Regions from separate parts of the Homo sapiens genome. Here region 2 is linked to region 1. Evidence: promoter capture Hi-C in human tissues and cell types (Jung and others, 2019). All regions are on one chromosome and are shown on one strand. The core of a region is centred on a gene start or on the middle of the fragment in contact, and the rest is flanking DNA. Distances in the headings are between cores, read along the strand shown.

Region 1 (4,250 bases), core at 694-3,193:
AATGCAGTGGCACAATCTCAGCTCACTGCAGCCTCATCCTCCTGGGCTCAAGCAATTCTCCCACCTCAGCCTCCTGAGTAGCTGGGGCTACAGGTGTCCACCATCACACCAGGCTAGTTTTTGTATTTTTTGTAGAGATGGGTTGGGGGGGGGGGTTTGTCTCACTTTGTTGAGGCTGGTCTTGAACTCCTGAGCTCAAGTGATCCTCCTTGGCCAGCCAAAGTGCTGGGATTGCAGGCGTGAGCCACAGCGCCCGACCCTCTCCAGGTGTTTTGAGTAGGAGACATTGAGTGCAGGGAATTGGTGGTACAGCACAGGTGATGGAAGAGCCCAGGATGGGCAACCATAGCAACCGCCACAACCCCCAGGCCCAGAGGAACAAGGGGAGGAAGAGATTGCACCAGGCCCCAGAAGTTTGGGGTCCCTCAGGGAAATTGAGAAGCTCGGGGGGCCCACTCCCAGCACTTTGGGGGCTAAGGCGGGTACATCACTTGAGGTCAGGAGTTCGAGACCAGCCTGGGCCAATATGGTGAAACCCCATCTCTACTAAAAATACAAAAATCAGCTGGGTGTAGGGGCACACGCCTGTAATTCCAGCTACTCACAAGGCTGAGTCAGGAGAATTGCACTTTCTCATCATACTGTGTAATGATGCTGGTGTCTGCCATCTGAGAACGGCCCCCGCCATAGCCATACTCTCCCACCTCCTCCCTGCCCCTGCGCCTCGGGCCCTGCCCTCTCTTCGGCTCCTTTCCTGTCTCCCACTTCCAGCCACCCACCTGCATGAATCCACCTGTCTGTTCCCCACATCTGCACTTGGGCATCGTCACCTGGAGAAAGTTCTACCTCCTGGAAGCCTGAAGCCACTGCAGATTCACGCCTCCCCCCACCTTCCCAGCAATCCTTGCGGGGTGGGAGGTGTTTGTCATCCAGTCACTCATGCACCCATCCAGTCACAAGTATTGATCACTCAGTAGGTGCCCAATGCCATCCTCTGCATTTGGGAGAGGATGTACCTAAAGAGCAGTGGGTGGAGGGGGGTGCACAGGGAGGGCATGGAAAACCAGAAGGGAAGTGAAGGGACTGCATTCTCTGCAGGGATGGTCTCTTGTTCTGAGAGCTGAGTGGGAAGGAAGCCACCTGGGAGGCGCAGCAGGAAGAGCATTCAAACCAGAAGGAACCCAGGGGAGAGAATCTGGATATTTTCAAAAGTGGCCCCGTGGCTCCAGCCAGGTCGGTGGTAGCCAGTGCTTTGGAGTGTCGGCCCCACCACAGGCTCCCGCTGCAGCCCGGGATCCAGTGCCCAGCAGGATGGGGGCAGGTGGCTCTGGGCCCCACTACATGGTTGTGGCAGGGTCCCCCATGTAGTTCAGTGGGGATCACAATCTCCACCTCCCAGGACCCACTCAAGCTCCCATTTGCACAGCCCAAACTGGAGCAGGATGGGGACATGGGAGGTGGGCTCTGGCTGTAGCGTCCGGTGGTGGGAGGTGGGGTCCAGGTGGTGACGCTACTGTCCCTGCAGTGCTCTTTGATGAGCTGTAACAGCAGGCTTGGAGGTGGGGCTGGGGACGACCCAGGCAACCCTGAGGGGAGCTTAAGGGAGCCAGGCAACCCTGGCACTTTTCCAAGGCTTTGCATTAACTCAATAGTTCCGCCATGGCCCCGGGGGTAGTGCCATGTATTTCTGTTTTACCGTCGAGGAAACGGAGGAAACCGAGGCACAAAGAAATGGAGTTAATTCCTAAAGTCACAGGGCCAGGAGGTGGCTGAGTGGGGATTCGAACTCACACCCCAGAGGGCACACACAGGCAGGCCCCTGCACACACGCGCGCGCGCGCGCGCACACACACATACACACACACGTGTCCTGGAGGAGGCGGCCCGCAGGGCGGGACAGGGCGGGGCGGGGGCAGGTCCCGGCCGCCGGGAGGAAGTGGCCGGGCGGTCGCAGGGACTCCGGGGCGACCGCCGCGAGTCCGCAGTAGTTCGGGCCATGGAGGCGGAGCCGCCGCTCTACCCGATGGCGGGGGCTGCGGGGCCGCAGGGCGACGAGGACCTGCTCGGGGTCCCGGACGGGCCCGAGGCCCCGGTGAGCGGGGACCCGGAGTGCGAGGCGCGGGCGTCCCCTGTGGGCCAGGGTCCCCCCGGCGGGGGCGGGGCGGGCCGGGGGGCGGCGGGCACCGGGGGACACGGGTTCGGGGCGCGATCGCGGGTGCGAGCGGCGTGCGTGGCTCGCAGCTGGACGAGCTGGTGGGCGCGTACCCCAACTACAACGAGGAGGAGGAGGAGCGCCGCTACTACCGCCGCAAGCGCCTGGGCGTGCTCAAGAACGTGCTGGCTGCCAGCGCCGGGGGCATGCTCACCTACGGCGTCTACCTGGGTAGGTGCCGCTCGGGGACCCGGGGCCGCCCCGCCCGCTCCCAGCCCGGCCCGGGAAACAGAAACCGCGGGCCGCCGCCTCCCGCCCGCTCTCACTTCCCCTCCGCTGCCCTCGCAGCTGCAGCCACGGCCCCCCGCGGCGGGGGTGGGGTTGGGGGGTCAAGTAGCGCAGCGTCCCCGGGTCCCAGCCAGAGCCTCGGTGTGGGTGGGGGACGGGGGTCCGGGCTCCCGGACAGACCTGCCACCGTCAGAATTGGAGGCCGGCGGAGCAAGGCGGGTGGGGGTCTGGGCTTAGCTGGCCAAGTGGCCGCGGGCTGGCAGAAGGCGTGGCGCAGCCCGGGAACCCCGCTGTCCTGAGGGGCGCTGTCAGCGGGAATGCCTTCGGTGATTGGAGCTCCCTGCGAGGCCTGCATGCCGTCTTCTGCTCGGTGGCGCCCAAAGCTAGGCTGCTCCCTGCACGCCGCTCTCTGTCCTGTCCCCAGGCCTCCTGCAGATGCAGCTGATCCTGCACTACGACGAGACCTACCGCGAGGTGAAGTATGGCAACATGGGGCTGCCCGACATCGACAGCAAAATGCTGATGGGCATCAACGTGACTCCCATCGCCGCCCTGCTCTACACACCTGTGCTCATCAGGTGGGCGCGGCTGCTCCTGTGGGATGCTGCGGTACTCCCATTTCGGAGGGGTACAGAGGCCGGCGGGCCAGGAGGTGTCCATCTGCCGGGGTGTTTGTGGGGCGAGGGAACAAGGGAGAGGTTTTTTTCTACCCGGAAGCCTGAGAGTGAAGGGGGTGAAACTCGGATTTGGGGAAGGAAACAGGAACTTTGCCTCAGGGCACATTTGGTTTCCAGCAACAGATTCACACGGGCTGAGCTCCCTCCCAGCTTGCCTGGGCCTCACGTGGCACCCTCCTCGTGGCCTCCTTGGAGGCCTCCCAGAGCCACTGTGGCCTTCAGGGTTGGGGCTGTAGAGTTAGGGGTTTCTGATCGGTCAGCAAAGTCCAGGCACCCATGCCTGGCCCAGTCGCTGTGACTGGTGCTGAGGGGGTGTTTCTCACAGACAGGCATGGCTGGGCAGGTGCCCCAGAGCTCTCCCCCAGATCTGAGCCCTGGAGGTATGTGGTTCAGCCTCCCCATCACCGGTCCACAGTGCCCTCCCTGATGGGACCTGGAGACCAGTGGACAAATTAGGTGAATTTGAGCTCCCTCATCTTTAAAACAAACAAACAAACAAAACAACAAGAGAAAACTCCATTTAAACAAAAATTTGAAAATTTAAAACATCTCCCGTTGCACAGGCAGGATTAGAATAACTGAAATCATAAAAAAGAAACCCCATCTAAGCCCTCCAGGAAATCGGCTACCCATGCTGTCCCACCAGCATGCATGGATTACATTCACATCCTTGTCCCCAGAGCACGTGTGTGGACGTGCCCGTGTGTGTGTGTGTGTGTGTGTGTGTGTGTGTGTGTATGCAAGCGGGCTATGTTTGCTTTTGCTTGCTTACTTTTTTTTTTTTGAGACAGATACTTGCTCTGTCACCTAGACTGCAGTGCAGTGGTGTGATCTCGGCTCACTGCAACCTCTGCCTCCCAGGCTCAAGCGATTCTCCTACTTCAGCACCCTGAGTAGCTGGGATTACAGGCGCCTGCCACCCGGTTAATTTTTGTACTTTTAGTAGAGATGGGGTTTCACTATGTTGACCAGGCTGGTCTTAAACTCCTGACCTCAAGTGATTCTCCTGCCTTGGCCTCCCAAAGTGCTGGGATTACAGGCATGAGCCACAGTGCCCAGAGCTTGCTTCCTTCTTTTCACTGAGCATATCTTAGCCTACTCTACAGCCTTCACAGTTACGACTTTGCAATGGT
Region 2 (4,250 bases), core at 266-2,765, 150 kb before region 1:
TTCTTCAAGGAGAAGAGAAGATCAGTCTTTAAGGCTTAATGCCTAAGCTCTTGGTCTTAACTTGACCTGGGATAACTACTTTAAAGAAATAAAAAATTCCAGTCAATTATTCCTCAACTGAAAGTTTAGTGGCAGCACTTCTATTGTCCCTTCACTTATCAGCATACTATTGTAGAAAGTGTACAGCATACTGACTCAATTCTTAAGTCTGATTTGTGCAAATTTTTATCGTACTTTTTAAATAGCCTTCTTACGTGCAATTCTGAGTTAGAGGTAAAGCCCTGTTGTAAAATAAAGGCTCAAGCAAAATTGTACAGTGATAGCAACTTTCCACACAGGACGTTGAAAACAGTAATGTGGCTACACAGTTTTTTTAACTGTAAGAGCATCAGCTGGCTCTTTAATATATGACTAAACAATAATTTAAAACAAATCATAGTAGCAGCATATTAAGGGTTTCTAGTATGCTAATATCACCAGCAATGATCTTTGGCTTTTTGATTTATTTGCTAGATGTTTCCCCCTTGGAGTTTTGTCAGTTTCACACTGTTTGCTGGCCCAGGTGTACTGTTTGTGGCCTTTGTTAATATCGCAAACCATTGGTTGGGAGTCAGATTGGTTTCTTAAAAAAAAAAAAAAAATGACATACGTGACAGCTCACTTTTCAGTTCATTATATGTACGAGGGTAGCAGTGTGTGGGATGAGGTTCGATACAGCGTATTTATTGCTTGTCATGTAAATTAAAAACCTTGTATTTAACTCTTTTCAATCCTTTTAGATAAAATTGTTCTTTGCAAGAATGATTGGTGCTTATTTTTTCAAAAATTTGCTGTGAACAACGTGATGACAACAAGCAACATTTATCTAATGAACTACAGCTATCTTAATTTGGTTCTTCAAGTTTTCTGTTGCACTTGTAAAATGCTACAAGGAATATTAAAAAAATCTATTCACTTTAACTTATAATAGTTTATGAAATAAAAACATGAGTCACAGCTTTTGTTCTGTGGTAACCTATAAAAAAAGTTTGTCTTTGAGATTCAATGTAAAGAACTGAAAACAATGTATATGTTGTAAATATTTGTGTGTTGTGAGAAATTTTTGTCATAAGAAATTAAAAGAACTTACCAGGAAGGTTTTTAAGTTTAGAAATATTCATGCCAATAAAATAGGAAATTATAAATATATAGTTTTAAGCACTGCATCAGTGGGAGTTCTTGGCTTATGTTAGTTTATGTTAGTTTATTATGAAAACATCAAAGATTTTTTTGACTATATTATCAGTTAAACAAAAAGGAGTCAGATTTAATTTGTTTTTTGAAGCACTTTGAGAAATTAATTTTAATTAACTTAATGAGCAAATTTTTATTACTACTTTATGTTCAATACCAGGTTCTTTTCATTTCTCTGGATTATTTTGCAAATCATTGGACAGAGAATTTGGGAATATAAATCTGTAACAGGTGTTTGACACCAGTAGGTCTCTTTATTTCTGGGAAATGTGTACCTGTACTTTCTGATATACAGTGTTCCTAAGTAAAAATCAATTCAGGGGATTTGTATAGTGTCTATAGGAAAGTAGCCCATGTCTTGAAATATGAAAAGGAATCTGAAGGTCATGAAAAGTCCAGTGGAGAAAATCTCAATGCTTACTGTTACTACTAATTGATTCCTACTAGTTTCCAGGTTTGGGGGGATATTGTTTCAATGACGCTCCTTAAGACTGTTGATTGCCCATAGGTTCCAAATAGAAATTAAGACTCATGAACATTTTTAGAAAGTAGATTGTTTTCTCCTGGTTCTCTAAGGAACTACTTCTGCAGTCTTACATAGTCTCATCCTTGTTTGTTGTGGTGCAGTCGAACTCCTCAGGCGTTTGGAAAGCATGTGGTAGACCTTCTTCCACACCCACCCATACCCCCGTTCACTGCGTCTGGAGGTCTTCAACAGTGAAGTAGGGCAGCCCACACAGCCTCTCAGGAGCACCTGTCCGAGGCACCCGGAGCACTTTGCAGAGCACGTCCAGCCCTCATGGGGTCCCTGCATAGAAATGTGAACCCCTGCCACTGAGGAAGATGAAGGTAGACCCTGTGTCTGGAGGTGCTGGAGGGCAGCGGGTCACCTCTTGTATTCCCACCTTAGTTTGGGGTGTTTTGAAGAGGTTCAGAGACTAAATCTTAAACCTTATTTGAATACCAACGATAGCTATTTTGGGAATTTCGATCTTAAAAAGTGACAAAACACATTTCCCATTTTCATTTTTCAGCTGAATTTTAGTAACTTATTTTTGATGTTTTAATTTTATCATGGCCTCCTCTTTGGAGGCCAACCTTCCCATGGGTCTCAAAGCAGTGACATTTGGTAGTAAATCACTGCCTCTCAGGAGTCGGTATGCACAAGCACTCAGCAGCCACTGTTGATGCCTTCTAGGGAAACCTAATTTCCGTTGGTAAAGGTAGGGGCCTCGGAACTGTTCCGGATCTGCTGTAGAACTTCACCGTGTGGAATGGTGACAGCCACACACCGTTGACCAGTTTAGAAGAGGTTGCATTCAATAAAACTCTTAGCTTGAGCTTATGCAATGATTGGTTAAGATTTTGGCATTGTAAGAATTAGGAGATGATCATAGAAATATATGTAAAGTATTCAATTTTCAATCATTTTCAAATTACTGTTATAAATTGTTTTTGCTGAGTTGTAATACTTTTGAGATACAATGTATTCCTTGTACTGAAAGAATGAAAAAGGACTTTTTCAGCATTTGAGGTAAGTTCTTTAACGTTTCATTAAAAACATTTTTTACAAATATTTTGTACATGCACTTGCAGTATTGAGGTTAATCATTTTAATAAATTCGGAAATTAAAACAATTTGGCCGGTGTTCACTGTATCTGAAAAGAAAAAAAAAAGATCAAAGTGGTGACTTTCTCCACAAAATTTTCATGTAAAACAATTTGTAAAATCAATTTCTAAAGCTTTTCAATACCTGTGAGTGTTGAGTTCTCTGGGCCCTGGTCTCTTGTGTCTGGTGCCACTCATTTTTAAGAGAAGAGAGGGTAAACATACATTCTTCTTTTAGTAGGGAGACTAAACTACATACCTTCCTAGTCCTTGAACCCAAGAAATGTTTGCCCTCAACATGGAGCACAATAACATCGAAGGCTTTTGCAACCCAAATGCATTAATAGTTCCTGATTACTTGGAGTTGTTTTTTTCCCCCCTCTCCGTATTGGTCAAAGTTAGCATACTCATGACTGGCCTGGGTCCTTTTTTCACCCATTTACTGTTGAAATATGACTGTACAGGAGAGAGGAAACCTGCAACATCTGAGTATCCCTGAGCAAGCTGCTTAATCTCCACATCTCTTTCCTGGCACCCAGCATCATTCTGTGCCGGAGATCAGTGTGGACGCCTGGTCCCGTCATCAGTTAAGTTTCTGGTTGAGCTGCATTCACTCATGAGGATAATCTGGGTGAGTGCTGCACACACGGGACTAGTCAAGTATTGATTATTGATTTTTCCTAATTGATTGAAGTATCCACCCAAACTTGGGTTCCCAGTATAGAAAAAGGCTAAGCGTGGCATGTCTGTTAAGTACTTAGGAGTCTTGTTCAGCATCTCAGGTTTTCTCTCTACTCTTCCAATAGCCAATGGTAGCTAACTTGCCGGGAGCCCTTGTGTGACTCGTTTCTCAAATGTCAACTTTCTGTCACTGACCTGCTGCACCGTTGCGTACTCTGCTGCAGAACCCAGTCGCACCCAGAGCAGAGTACAAGCAAGTTGCCAGCTCCAGGGCACTCCCTGTGACTATGGCACGTGTGACCCTCGCATGCAAAGGAAGGTGAGGTTTACTCCCTCCCTGATGTCCTAGAGCACATGGGCATTACTTGTGTTTGCTAATGATAGAGCCCAGGGGAAAAGGAAATTTATTGATTTAGAGACGGAGTCTCACTCTGTTGCCCAGGCTGAAGTGCAGTGGCACAATCTTGACTCACTGCAACCTCCACCTCCCAGGTTCAAGCGGTTCTCCTGCATCAGCCTCCCAAGTAGCTGGGACTACAGGCGCCCGCCACCATGCTGGGTTAATTTTTGTATTTTTGGTAGAGATGGAGTTTAACCATGTTGGCCAGGCTGGTCTTGAACTCCTGACCTCAAGTGATCTGCCCATCTCAGCCTCCCAAAGTGCTGGGATTACAGGCATGAGCCACCATGCCCGGCTGAAAAGTAAATTTGGATTCTTCCAAAAGGG

The links. The method cuts DNA at HindIII sites, captures the fragments that hold promoters and counts their contacts. A contact is called where the count stands out against the background at its distance.
Region 2: a contact is called between a fragment that was not itself captured here and the fragment with the promoter of UNC93B1 in region 1, in 2 of the 25 tissues and cell types used here (lymphoblastoid cells and spleen).

Annotation. Positions count from the first base shown.
Region 1 is chr11:68,001,790-68,006,039 of GRCh38, reverse strand. It overlaps UNC93B1 (unc-93B1 regulator of TLR signaling), which reads left to right and starts at 1,943. Exons shown (of 11, transcript NM_030930.4): 1 at 1,943-2,092; 2 at 2,242-2,383; 3 at 2,865-3,018. The coding sequence starts at 1,997. RefSeq lists enhancers at 900-1,442, 1,443-1,986, 2,891-2,940, 3,041-3,090, 3,191-3,390 and silencers at 1,821-2,120, 2,181-2,590. The HindIII fragment of the contact is 30,745 bases long and covers 1-4,250 here.
Region 2 is chr11:68,153,484-68,157,733 of GRCh38, reverse strand. KMT5B (lysine methyltransferase 5B) reads left to right here. Exons shown (of 11, transcript NM_017635.5): 11 at 1-2,871. The coding sequence ends at 46. Among named protein-coding and RNA genes, the nearest start is that of CHKA-DT, 34 kb to the right of the region's middle. The HindIII fragment of the contact is 4,306 bases long and covers 1-3,668 here.